Regions from separate parts of the Homo sapiens genome. Here region 1 is linked to region 2. Evidence: promoter capture Hi-C in 16 types of primary human blood cells and fetal thymus (Javierre and others, 2016). All regions are on one chromosome and are shown on one strand. The core of a region is centred on a gene start or on the middle of the fragment in contact, and the rest is flanking DNA. Distances in the headings are between cores, read along the strand shown.

Region 1 (6,140 bases), core at 985-3,484, 2.7 Mb after region 2:
TTTAGGTGAAAGCAGAGGAAAAATAAATTAATTCTTCTTTTTTAAAGAGACAAGGGTTTCACTATGTGGCCCAAGCTGGCCTCAAACACTTGGGCTCAAGTCATCATACCATCTCAGCCTCCTGAGTAGCTGGGACTATAGGTGCCAGCCACCATGCCTAACTTAAACTAATTACGTATTTAATAATTTTTTCATTATTTGGTTGTAACCTTGAATCACAACACCTCTGAGAAATTTTTAGAGCACAGGGAAGTCATAAGAATAGCATTATTATCATCTCATTTTATTTGGAAGTCAAGGAGATGGAATAAGCTGCCCAACATTACATAATAATAATGCATCCAAGAAATTTCACTGGAGGCAAACTTTACCTGTTTGCTACTTTTCTGTTGAAAATGTCAACTAAGTCAGCTTTAAAGTGACATAATAAAGCCATACTTGTATCCCTCAGTCCAAACTGATCAAGAATTACTGTTAAATATAAAAGCCAGTGTGTATTCTAGGTTGTATTCTTACACAAAATAGTACAAACACTTGCGGGTTGGATGATAATATTCCATTTTCTGTCTACTTGGAAACTAAGTTTTTAAATGAAATTAAAATGTTTCCTTGACTGAAGTTAAACAACAATAATTGCTATCTAAGTATCCTAATCACAATAAATAAATGAGTGAATGATGAATGAGCTATTTATCACAGAATTGTGAAGGACCAAGATCCCTCAATGTAATCATTCTATTACATTGAACACAAGATGCAGACAATGAGATCATCTCATAAAAGATTTAGGGGAAAGACAATTTGCAAGAATGTTCTATGCAAATACCAGGACTTGTCACTTTATCAGCAAATGACAGCATCCTCGTTAGCCCTGCCTTTGTGCAGCCAGTAATCACGAAAAACATTTGCATGATGCTTTTAGCCATTTGTTTTACTTAACTGGCACAACAACCCTCGGAGAGTAAAGGCCAGGAATTATTGCATCATTATCCATTTGACATCTTAGGAAGCAGAGGCTCAGAACAGGGAAGTGACTTGCCCAAAGTCAACAGGCTGGTGGGTGGCAGAGCTGGGGCTCAAAGCCAGATCTTCTAATACCAGATCTCATCTTCTTTCCTCTGCATTCCCTGCTTCTCCAGGTAAGCGATGCCAGGGCAGGCTCAGGCATTCTAGAAGAGAGGAAGAAAAGAAGGCAACAGGAACTAGGAGAGAGAAGGACGTGGACAGGAGGAGGTGTTTGACTAGAAGTGCGTCCAACCAGGCCGGGCACAGTGGCTTACGCCTGTAATCCCAGCACTTTGAGAGGCCGAGGCGGGAGGATCACCTGAGGTCAGGAGTTCGGGACCAGCCTGGCCAACATGGTGAAACCCCGTCTACTAAAAATACAAAAATTAGCTGGGCGTGGTGGTGCACGCCTGTAGTCCCAGCTACTCGGGAGGCTGAAGCACGAGAATCGCTTGAACCTGGGAGGCGCAGGTTGCAGTGAGCGAAGATCGCGCCATTGCATTGCAGCCTGGGTGACAGAGCGAGACTCTGTCTCAAAAAAAAAAAAAAAAAAAAGGTCCAACGGCTCTCCATTGCCCCCAAACATCCCTCAAGTGACAACAGTGCCACAAGTTCCCCTGCCCCTGGGTCTGCAGCCAATGTTATTTTATCAGTTGAGAATCATGTCAGAAAATTAAATACTCAAAAGAAATCTCAAGATTTCCCAGCTCTGAGGTTCTGACAGCTGAACTTGGCCCCTCCCACCAAGGCCCGTGGTCACATTCAAAGCCTCGGGAGCCGAAGCCACCGCGAAGCGTGGGGGAATGAGGCGAAGAGGGTTTGTGACGGTGGTGGGGATCCGGGCTAAGGAGAGGGGGTGCCTGCGGCGGAGCTGTGGTTGGGGGTTGTGGGTTTTGTGGCTGAACTCGATGGTGGGGTAAGAAACCAGGATCGGGGCTGGGTAGGGTGGCGTTTACACGTCCAGGAAGGTCTGGGGGAGCTGAGCGGCTGAGACAGCCAGAGAAAGACCCGGGAATGGGCGAGGCGGGGGGTTCCGGAGCCCTGGAACGCGGGCGAGCCCCTCTCGGGCGCCCGGGATTGGGCGCTCCCCGGAGCCCCTCCTCTCCAGAGCCCCTCTCCTCAGGCCCCGCCCACAACGCCAGGCGCGCGCCGGGCCGCGGGGAAGGGGACCTGGCCGGCGCGGGGGAGGGGGAGAGGGAGGCTCGTGCACGCGCCTCACTAGCTGCGGGTGCGCGAGCCGCGCGCTCCCGCCGCCCGCGTCGCCATCTTTTTCCCCCTCCGTCTGTCTGTCTGCTGTTGGCTTTGTCCGTCTGCAGCGCCGCCCCTCGGCTCCCCGCCACCGGCTCGGCTCGGCCCGGAGCCCCTTCCGCTCGCCGGGGCCCAGTCCCGGAGCGCCCCGGCCCGGCTGGCTTGGGCTGCGGTCCCGGGTCCATTGTCCGGCGGTCCGTCTGTCCGGAGGCGGGGCCCAGGGACCCAGAGCGCAGCGCAGCGCCGAGGCGCCGGGTAAAAAGACCCCCTGCCCTCCCTCCGGGTCCGGGCTGGGGATGCGGGCTCCTCGCCCCCTCGCGGCCGCCGGCTGTTGGTCCTTTTGTCTGCACTGGGGAGAGGGCCGGGGGCCAGCTCCGGCCTAGGGGGGCAGCCCGGGCTCACCCTCCCCGCTTCCAACCCCAATTCCTCCCCGGCCGCTCCTCCTGCTGCCCCTTGGCGCTCTCGGGCGCGGGGCGCGGGGTGCGGGGCCGGGGGGCTTTTGCGCGGGCCGCGGGCACCCCGCCTCCTCGGGCCCCGGCGGGGACGGCCCCGGCGTCTGACAGCCTTGGGTGGAGCTGGGGGAGGGGAGGATGGGCGTGGGCGTGCAGACCGGGGGGTATCAGTCCCCGCGTCTGGGTCTCGCAGAAAAGCTTCTAAATTTAGATTTCGGAGATTGTGTTGTCTAAGGGTTTGTCTGAGCCGCCTCGGAAGACCTCCGGCTCTTGTCAGGCTCTTGTCTGGTAATTCCTGGGAATTTACCTGGGCTCATGCTTGAAGAAGCAGAGGGACCATCTCGGCTGATTAGACACGCCCCAGACCCAACCCCAGGGGTCAGGTGAACAGCCAGGCGGCTAAGTGACCAGCTTTCTTGTCCTCTCCTTTTTGGCAGATACAGATCACTTGGATTCAGTCGAGTTTGCTTTGCTCCGTGGGAACTGCACCAGAGCTGGAGGTGGGAACGCACTCTCTTTTCATCAAGCTGAGATTTCACTCGTTTTTTTTCTTGCCAAAGTCTGTGGTGTGCCCTAGACGCTGCAACCTAATACCTGTGGGAGAGCAGAGACAGTGTTCAGGGGAGACGTTGCACCTTCCCGAGGACTCTTAACCTTGCTCTGAAGACAGACAGAACTGCTTTCCTTTTAAAATGGAATCCCTTTAGACCTGAATCTCACCGTTTACCTGTCTTCCCAGCCCATGTTCAGGCAGCTATCTATTTACATTTTTGGTTTGGTTTGGTTTCAGGTTTTGGCTTGGAAATTGAGGCAGTGTTAAAAGTAAAACAAAATGAGTGACCTTTAGGGCTGTATGTCTCTGGGTTTTATTAGCTTTAACTGCCTATAAAACAAGTCATCTGGCCTCTGAGATCTTGCTTTGTGGTCAAGAGTGTCCTTTCAGCGCCATTTATTTATTTACTTATTGATTTTCAACAGCCCATGACCCCACAGGCCTGTTTTTGTGGGTGTTTTTGTTATTATTTTCGTTTCGTTGTGTGGGAGGGGACTGTAATTGCTTATTTTTCTCTTGATCACTCAGGTGTGAAGTCCCATTGGGTACCATCTGGTCAGTTCCCCATTTGGCCACTAGGAGGATTATAAGATGCAGCGGGCATTGCTGATTTAAATACGCAGACACTCATCTCTGTCTTTTGACTTGGAGCTTTAATATTGAAATGTTGTCTGGTTCAAATTATTTGGCCTTCCTTCAGAAGGGACTTTATTACCTTTATCTTACAGTTTCAGTTTCTGATCTTGAAGGGAGAAAATATAAAAATTAGTCAAGATTCTGTTTTTTCTTCTATAATAGAGTATATATATATTTAGCCTCAATAGATTATCACATTAGAGGAGTATATTTTATTTTTTTAAATTTTTATTTATCTTTTTTTTTTTTTTTTGAGACGGAGTCTCGTTCTGTCGCCCAGGCTGGAGTGCAGTGGTGCGTTCTTGGCTCACTGCAACCTCCGCCTCCCGGGTTCAAGCAATTCCCTGCCTCAACCTCCTGAGTAGCTGAGATTACAGACATGCATCACCACGCCCAGCTAGTTTTTGTATTTTTAGTACAGACGGGGTTTCACCATGTTGGCCAGGCTGTTCTCAAACTCCCGACCTCAGGTGATCCACCCGCCTCAGCCTCCCAAAGTGCTGGGATTACAGGCGAGAGCCACCGCCCATGGCAGTTTTTTATCTTTTTTTGAGATGGAGTCTCACTCTGTTGCCCAAGCTGCAGTGTAGTGCCTCCATCCCAGCTCACTGCAACCTCCCCTCCCCAGGTTCAAGCGATTCTCATGCCTCAGCTTCCCGAGTAGCTGGAATTTACAGGTGTGCACCACCATGCCCAGCTAATTTTTGTATTTTTATTAGAGGTTTCCCCATATTGGCCAGGCTGGTCTCAAACTCCTGGCCTCAAGTGATCTGCCTGCCTTGGCCTCCCAAAGTGTTGGGATTACAGGCGTGAGCCACGGTGCCTGGCCATATTTTTAAAAATATTAATAGAGCCTGCATTTCATTACCTTTCCACTTGGTGATTCCACACACATATAGGAAATCCAAAGTGTGATATTCATTCACTGCTTCCGTGAATAAAACAACTACTTGATTAGAAAAAAATGACATACACAAAACTTAGAGAACATACACTATCAGCACTCAGTATATTGCCCTCTAAATAGTTTAAATTGATTTTTATTGTATACATTTAGAGTTTTGTTTTGTTTTGTTTTTAATTAAAGGTCTGAAAAAGAACTGTGTTTGATATGCAGATATGCTAGAAGACTGCCTGAAAGCTGCTTCCTTTGCCACTTCCTGTGGAGGCCTGTCTTTGCCATTTGCGGTTTCTTTATTCTTTTGGTAAGGGGAGGCAGGATCTGATTATAGGTTTGAGGTCCTTCTAGCTACATAGAGGAGTTAGTTGGCATAACAGGAGGTGAGTCTTCATTAACTGGAGTACAAAATATAGCTAGCAGTAGTCTCCCATAACTCCTCTTAAGGCAATAAACTATGATTTTATGTTTGCTTATTCAATGTGAGTATAACTCAAGAAGGCAGGAACTGAAAGAAAACTTAAGAGTGTGACCAGATCCATATTCCTGTCTTTGGTAGGAAAGACAATCCCTTTTTATTCTATGTCTTTATTCACTCTTTCTAAGAAAATGACACAGCTATCAATACTAATCCATCTCAGATTCTCTAACAATGCTTAAGGCTGGGGCACTCTTTCTGTAGTTAATCAGGAACCTTCAGGCTTACGTATATATCCCCTCCTATATGGGGTGGGGAGCAGATGCATGTCTTGGCAGCATTTTTCGTTTGGGGAACTTTTCTCTTTATTCCTCCCACTGTTCTCTTTGCTACCCAGAGGCTAGATTGAGAAGAGCCTCTAAAGTTATTAACTTTGACCACCTCTCTGGAATGTGTGAGGAGGGCCAGGTGGTATTCCACACTGGGGTGTTGAATTAGTACTCATCAATGTGGATGGCATCTGTCTCTTCTGGTGAGAGCCCATCTTCAACATTAGAAGTTTGATTTGCTTAGTGCCATGTCATTCACAGTGCAGCATAGCATTGCGCCTGTATCACCAGATAGAGGCTTTATTTCCCATGCTGTTCTCATTTACAGATGCCTATTTGAGACATTTTCTGTCTCGCAGGGATGTGATGCCTTTGCTACCTCTAGGCAAGATAACATCATGAAAAATCCGCTGGTGTAGACTGCAGGGCTTGACTTCCAGTGGGCATGTGACATGTGAGCTGCCACCCTCTTTGGCTTCCTTTTGCTTCCTTTTGCAATTCATCGGAGTTATCCCCTTGAGCCCACAGTACTTCTAACCCTGGATGCCTGAGTTTTACTTCCTCTTTTATCCTGTGACCTTGATCATGATCACTTAACAGT
Region 2 (5,541 bases), core at 144-2,643:
TATGACAGTAGCAAAGGTGACCGTTGGTGGAGATGCCAACAAGCTCTCATTCCCCATGATAGAGGCCTGGGGTCAGCCACAGTGGGTAATTTGTACTCACAGAATATCTTCAGTCTCAGGAGCTCCTTTTGGGTTCCCTGAGCTCCTGACTTTTCAGGTTCTAGTTATGTCTAACTTGGTCTTGACTGCTCATTTGCGGGTCAGGACAGCAGAAGCTGTCTGTTTACTACAGTAGATGTAATTCGCATTTTTGGACACAATGACCAGTGGAGATTACACAACCCAAACTGCCCTCATTCCCCAACATGTGCATGGACAGAGTGGGATGAAAGTGCGCCAGGGTGGTGGGAAGCCCCAGGGATTCTGGTGGCTAGCCTAGCTGTCTACAGGATGGCAGAGTTCCTCTTGGGCAGCTCATTTAATCCCTCCACGCAGAACTGTTAACATCTCTGTGCCATTCTTCAGTTAAATGAGAACCTAACGCAGGCCTGATGCATGGCTCAGATTACACAGCGGATGTGAAGAGGCTTTGGGAACATATCCTCTCTCCTAAGGACAGGGAGGGGATGCTAGTGTGGGGTGCCTGCGGTGTTGCATGCAGGTCAATGAGAACAGTTACCGACACACAGACTTAACCCGAGTCCTCAAAGATGTGTTTTATTATTATTTTTTCATCCTTTAAACATGAATCTAAATGCTGGCTTAAAATCAGGATTCATGCATAAACGGCTTCCCAGTTTATTAACAATACTGGCTGTGACTTTTTGAGTTCAGTGTTGTGGGCCAGGCACTTAAATTATTATTTCGAATCTTGCCAATGGTACTTTACATTTGAGCTCTTGCGTACCCTGCCAGAGCAAGGATTATAACCTTAATTTTTTTTCTTACCCCAGAACTTATGCTCTTAACCCTATTCAATGCTGTCTCTCTCTTTGGCTAAGAAAGACTTCTGAGGCAGATGGAAGGAAGGAAGGAAGGAGGGAGCGATACAAGGAGAGGCTTTCCGATTCCGTAATACACCTGGTTGTGCAAAGTTCACCTCTACATATAAAGTTTTTGTTTTCCAAGTCATTGAACCGGCGACATATTCTACCGGCCATTTTGGTTGTGGCAACCCCAATTCCCTTGATTTTTTTTTTTGTGACAGCAAATGGAATTAGAGTAGGCCGCCCTGCCCGGGCTTTTTAAGAAACCCCAGCAACCCCCCCGGGTAAGGAGCGCCGCTCTCCCGCCCGCCGGTCCAGGGTGTGTGCGGTTTCCAGCACGGCCTCCTCCTTCGCCCCACTCTGGGTTCGCGGGTCGGCGCCGGCGGGGCGGGGCTCGGCAGGGCCACGCTGCCACGCCCAGCGTCTCCACCCCCTCATTTAAATACGCGGCGCCGGCGAGTGCGTCGAGCTCGCCGCGGACTCAAGATGGCGGCGTGTGGACGTGTACGGAGGATGTTCCGCTTGTCGGCGGCGCTGCATCTGCTGCTGCTATTCGCGGCCGGGGCCGAGAAACTCCCCGGCCAGGGCGTCCACAGCCAGGGCCAGGGTCCCGGGGCCAACTTTGTGTCCTTCGTAGGGCAGGCCGGAGGCGGCGGCCCGGCGGGTCAGCAGCTGCCCCAGCTGCCTCAGTCATCGCAGCTTCAGCAGCAACAGCAGCAGCAGCAACAGCAACAGCAGCCTCAGCCGCCGCAGCCGCCTTTCCCGGCGGGTGGGCCTCCGGCCCGGCGGGGAGGAGCGGGGGCTGGTGGGGGCTGGAAGCTGGCGGAGGAAGAGTCCTGCAGGGAGGACGTGACCCGCGTGTGCCCTAAGCACACCTGGAGCAACAACCTGGCGGTGCTCGAGTGCCTGCAGGATGTGAGGGAGGTGAGGAGGTGGGACGAAGCCGGGAGGGCCAGGCCTGGTGCGGGCCCGAGGGTGTTGCCGGCCTTGGAAGCCGCTGACGCCGGTCGGCTGCTTTCCTTGCTTCCTCTGTGCTGCACTCGCTCCTTCCCTCTTTGCTCCTCACTCCCAGGCGCTTTCAGGGAAAAGGATACCACTCCCACTCCTTCTTTCCCCCGCCCTTATTTCCCTCCCTGTTGCCGGGGTCTGGGACGAAAACCTGGGCTCCTGGCCGCAATCCGCCGAGGCCCAGAGCGTGTCTGTTCGCTCCTGTCTTTTGTGTGATGCTCTATGCAGAGTGTCTCCTCGCCGAAGATCAGTTTAGGATTTTGCCATCAGTTTCGACTAGGACAATTTGTGGCAAGCCATTTAAACATAAAAAAATGCCTGGCGTACTTAGGCTGTAAAGAATGATCTGTTTATTAGCAGTAGATGTAATTCGCAAATCCATATTTTTGGTGCTGAAATTAATGTATGCTTTGTTTTCTTCACTTCCTTTGGTCAGTTGTATTGAACCCCATGTTTAAGCTGTTAACTCCCAGTGACTTGGCGCCCCAAAGCTTGAAAAGTTGGGGAAGCGTTTGAAGCTGTGTTTGTGACTGGGTTATGGGATCTTGCCTTTCTGAGGTCTGAATGTGATTTTAACAGTATCTCTTAATGAAATCTACATTTGTCGTTGCTTGGTGTGATTCAGTTGAGTGACATTGATAATTTATAATCAAGTGACATTGATAATTTATAATCTAGGTTTAATGCTGCAGACCATAATGACAATTCTCAAAGTTTGGGAGCAAATCTGACAGTAGTAACTTTTTCCAGAGGTGTAGGTATATAAAATTAGCCCTAAAGGTGGACAAATAGAATGAAGCTACCACTTGATACTGTTTTTGGTTTTTTTTTTAAATATCAGATTTGTTTAAGGCGTTCAAGCTATAGCAAGACCACTTGCTTGTAGAAATTTGCTTCTCTTGGCATTTCCCCCCTTCATCTCGTGTTCTAGTATTCTATACAAAAGCAATTCAGATAGAGGAAAAGACATACATAAGCAGGAGACAGAAAGAAAGGAAGTTTCCAGAGCCCCTAGAAATGTGAGGCCTTACCTGACTTCTCATCTTCAGCTTAACGACTAGAGGGATAGTCCTCTGGTAGATACAGCTAATATTCCTAACTCTGTCGAACTTTTTGGAATTTTCTTTTCGCTCTTTGAGGACACATAATAGATGTCGTTTCATCAAACTAGGATCCTAATACTGGTGACCAAACAATTAGTAGTAGTTTGTGGTAGAAACAGCACATTATTAGGGAAAGTGGCAAAAAGTGGCCTATTCAAGGAGTGTATATATCCTTCATGTGTATTCCGGACATTTGGAAACCTCCACTTAAAGGAGGCAGTTTTATGCTCCAGAGGAGGAAAGGCGTCATATAAATTGGAAATGGGGGTTTTGGGGGGTTGGGGGGAGGTGGAGGGACCAAATTTCCAATTTAATGTTTTTTCCTCCAGTTTTTACATACAGAAATAATGAAGGAAGAGTACTGTGAACACCTATGTGTATTCTTCAGGAGGTGGAGTTATTTTTAAACTTCTTTTCTTTTTTTTGAGATGGAGTCTCACTCTGTCGCCAGGCTGGAGTGCAGTGGCTTGAACTTGGCTCACTGCAACCTCCACCTCCCGGCTTTAAGCAATTCTGCCTCAGCCACCTGAGTACCTGGGACTACAGGCGAGCGCCACCACGCCCAGCTAATTTTTGTATTTTTAGTAGAGACAGGGTTTCACCATGTTGGCCAGGATGGTCTCGATCTCCTGACCTTGTGATCTGCCAGCCTCGGGCTCCCAAAGTGCTGAGATTAGTGGTGTGAGCCACCACCCCCACCCTATTTTCTTTTTCTTTAAAGACAGCGAAAGGAAATTTCATTCTGCTTAGTCTGGGAGTTAATTAAATCTGATCTATGTGTTTGAAAGAGCATAACTTAAAGAAGTAAACTAGTTAGGCACATTTGAAGAAACATGTATAGAATATGTTTTGTATTTGCTGTTCAGTAAGTAGAACTATTTGATAGTGAAATAGATATATGTACTTTTCTGTCCCTTTGCATGCAAATGCAGGGAACATTTTCCTATCCGTACCCATTATTGGAATTATGAAAAGGCAGAGCATATGAGTACAGTTGTTCCTTGGTATCACTGGAGGATGGTTCCAGGCCTCCTGCAGATATTGAAATCCAAGGACGCTCAAGTACCTTATACCGTATAAAATGGTGTCGTATTTCCATATCATCTGTGCACACCCTTCCGAATTCTTGTCTTCTCTAAAATACTTGTGATACCTAGTACAGTGCCTACATATCAGTTCATTCATGTGGATTCACTGTAGTACTTGGCATATGTCAAACTTAACTTTTGCTTTTTGGAACCTTATGGAACTTTTCTTTCTGAAAAAAAATTTTTTATTATGGAGACAGGGTCTCGCTCTGTCATCCAGGCTGGAGTGCAGTGGTGCAGTCATAGCTCACTGCAGCCTCAGTCTTCTGGGTTTGAGAGTTCACTGAAGCCTCCACATTCCGGGTTCAAGTGATCTTCCCAGCTGGGCTTTCCAAAGTGCTGGGATTAGAGTTGTGAGCCACTGTGCCTGGCCTTGGGATTCTTTTTTTTTTTTTTTAACGCTCTCGGATGAGTCATGCTTTTAAAAAGGCCAAGTATATCATGGGTCCACTATGAAATAATAGATGTAATAGCCAGTAATGGTGTGTTAGTAGTCCTAGTTGTGTGTGTATAATTATTAGTAGTTCAAGTTATTTAAATAAAAACAAAAAATTAGAAAGTGTAAGGCAGAAAAGAAAAAATATTCCCTGGGCTGTTCTAGTAGGTGGAGTAATAATACCAAAGAAAGAGAAGATACTGTTGCTTAGTATGTGATAAGGAAGGCATGCTTGATGTTGTCAGTCATTTTAAAATACTTTACTTATTCTTGGTTGAAATGGCCAGTAGCACTTTTTTTTTTTCCACTAGTGTCTTGTATTTCGAAGTTTCAGATGGAGACCTTGGTTCCTTAGAAGTTTGTGGTGTTCAGCCGGGCGCAGTGGCTCACACTTGAAATCCTAGCCCTTTGGGAGGCTGAGGCAGGAGGATTGCTTGAGCTAGGAGTTCAGTACCAGCCTGGCAACATAGTGAGACACCGTCTCTAATAAAAAGTTTGTGATGTTCATAGATTAGATTTTCTTTTTTTTTTTTTTTTGAGACGGAGTCTTATTCTGTTGCCAGGCTGGAGTGCAGTGGTGTGATCTCGGCTCACTGCAACCTCTGACTCCCTGGTTCAAGCAGTTCTTCTGCCTCAGCGTCCCAAGTAGCTGGGATTACAGGCACGCACCACCTCGCCCAGCTAATTTTTGTATTTTTAGTAGAGACAGAGTTTCACCATGTTGGCCAGGATAGTCTTGATCTCCTGACCTCATGATCTGCCCACCTTGGTCTCCCAAAGTGCTGGGATTACAGTCATGAGCTATTGCGCCTGGCTGCTGCTGCTGCTGCTGCTGTTGTTGTTGTTGTTGTTGTTTGAGACGAAGTCTTGCCCTGTTGCTCAGGCTGGAGTGCAGTGGCACAATCTTGGCTCACTGCAACCTCTGCCTTCTGGGTTCAAGTGATTCTCCTGTCTCAGCCTCTTCATCACCTTGGCCAGGC

What was found. Contacts are between HindIII fragments. The CHiCAGO score rates a contact against its expected background, and 5 or more counts as called.
Region 1: a contact is called between the fragment with the promoter of ZNF821 here and the fragment with the promoter of GLG1 in region 2, in 1 of 17 cell types (M0 macrophages). The highest score is 5.0, in M0 macrophages.

The regions. Positions count from the first base shown.
Region 1 is chr16:71,880,276-71,886,415 of GRCh38, reverse strand. It overlaps ZNF821 (zinc finger protein 821), which reads left to right and starts at 2,234. Exons shown (of 8, transcript NM_001201552.2): 1 at 2,234-2,508; 2 at 3,143-3,205. RefSeq lists enhancers at 868-1,368, 3,209-3,408 and silencers at 1,949-2,708, 2,729-2,848. The HindIII fragment of the contact is 5,845 bases long and covers 1-2,905 here.
Region 2 is chr16:74,602,966-74,608,506 of GRCh38, reverse strand. It overlaps GLG1 (golgi glycoprotein 1), which reads left to right and starts at 1,393. Exons shown (of 26, transcript NM_001145667.2): 1 at 1,393-1,850. The coding sequence starts at 1,413. RefSeq lists silencers at 1,223-1,412, 1,643-1,822. The HindIII fragment of the contact is 13,128 bases long and covers 1-2,427 here.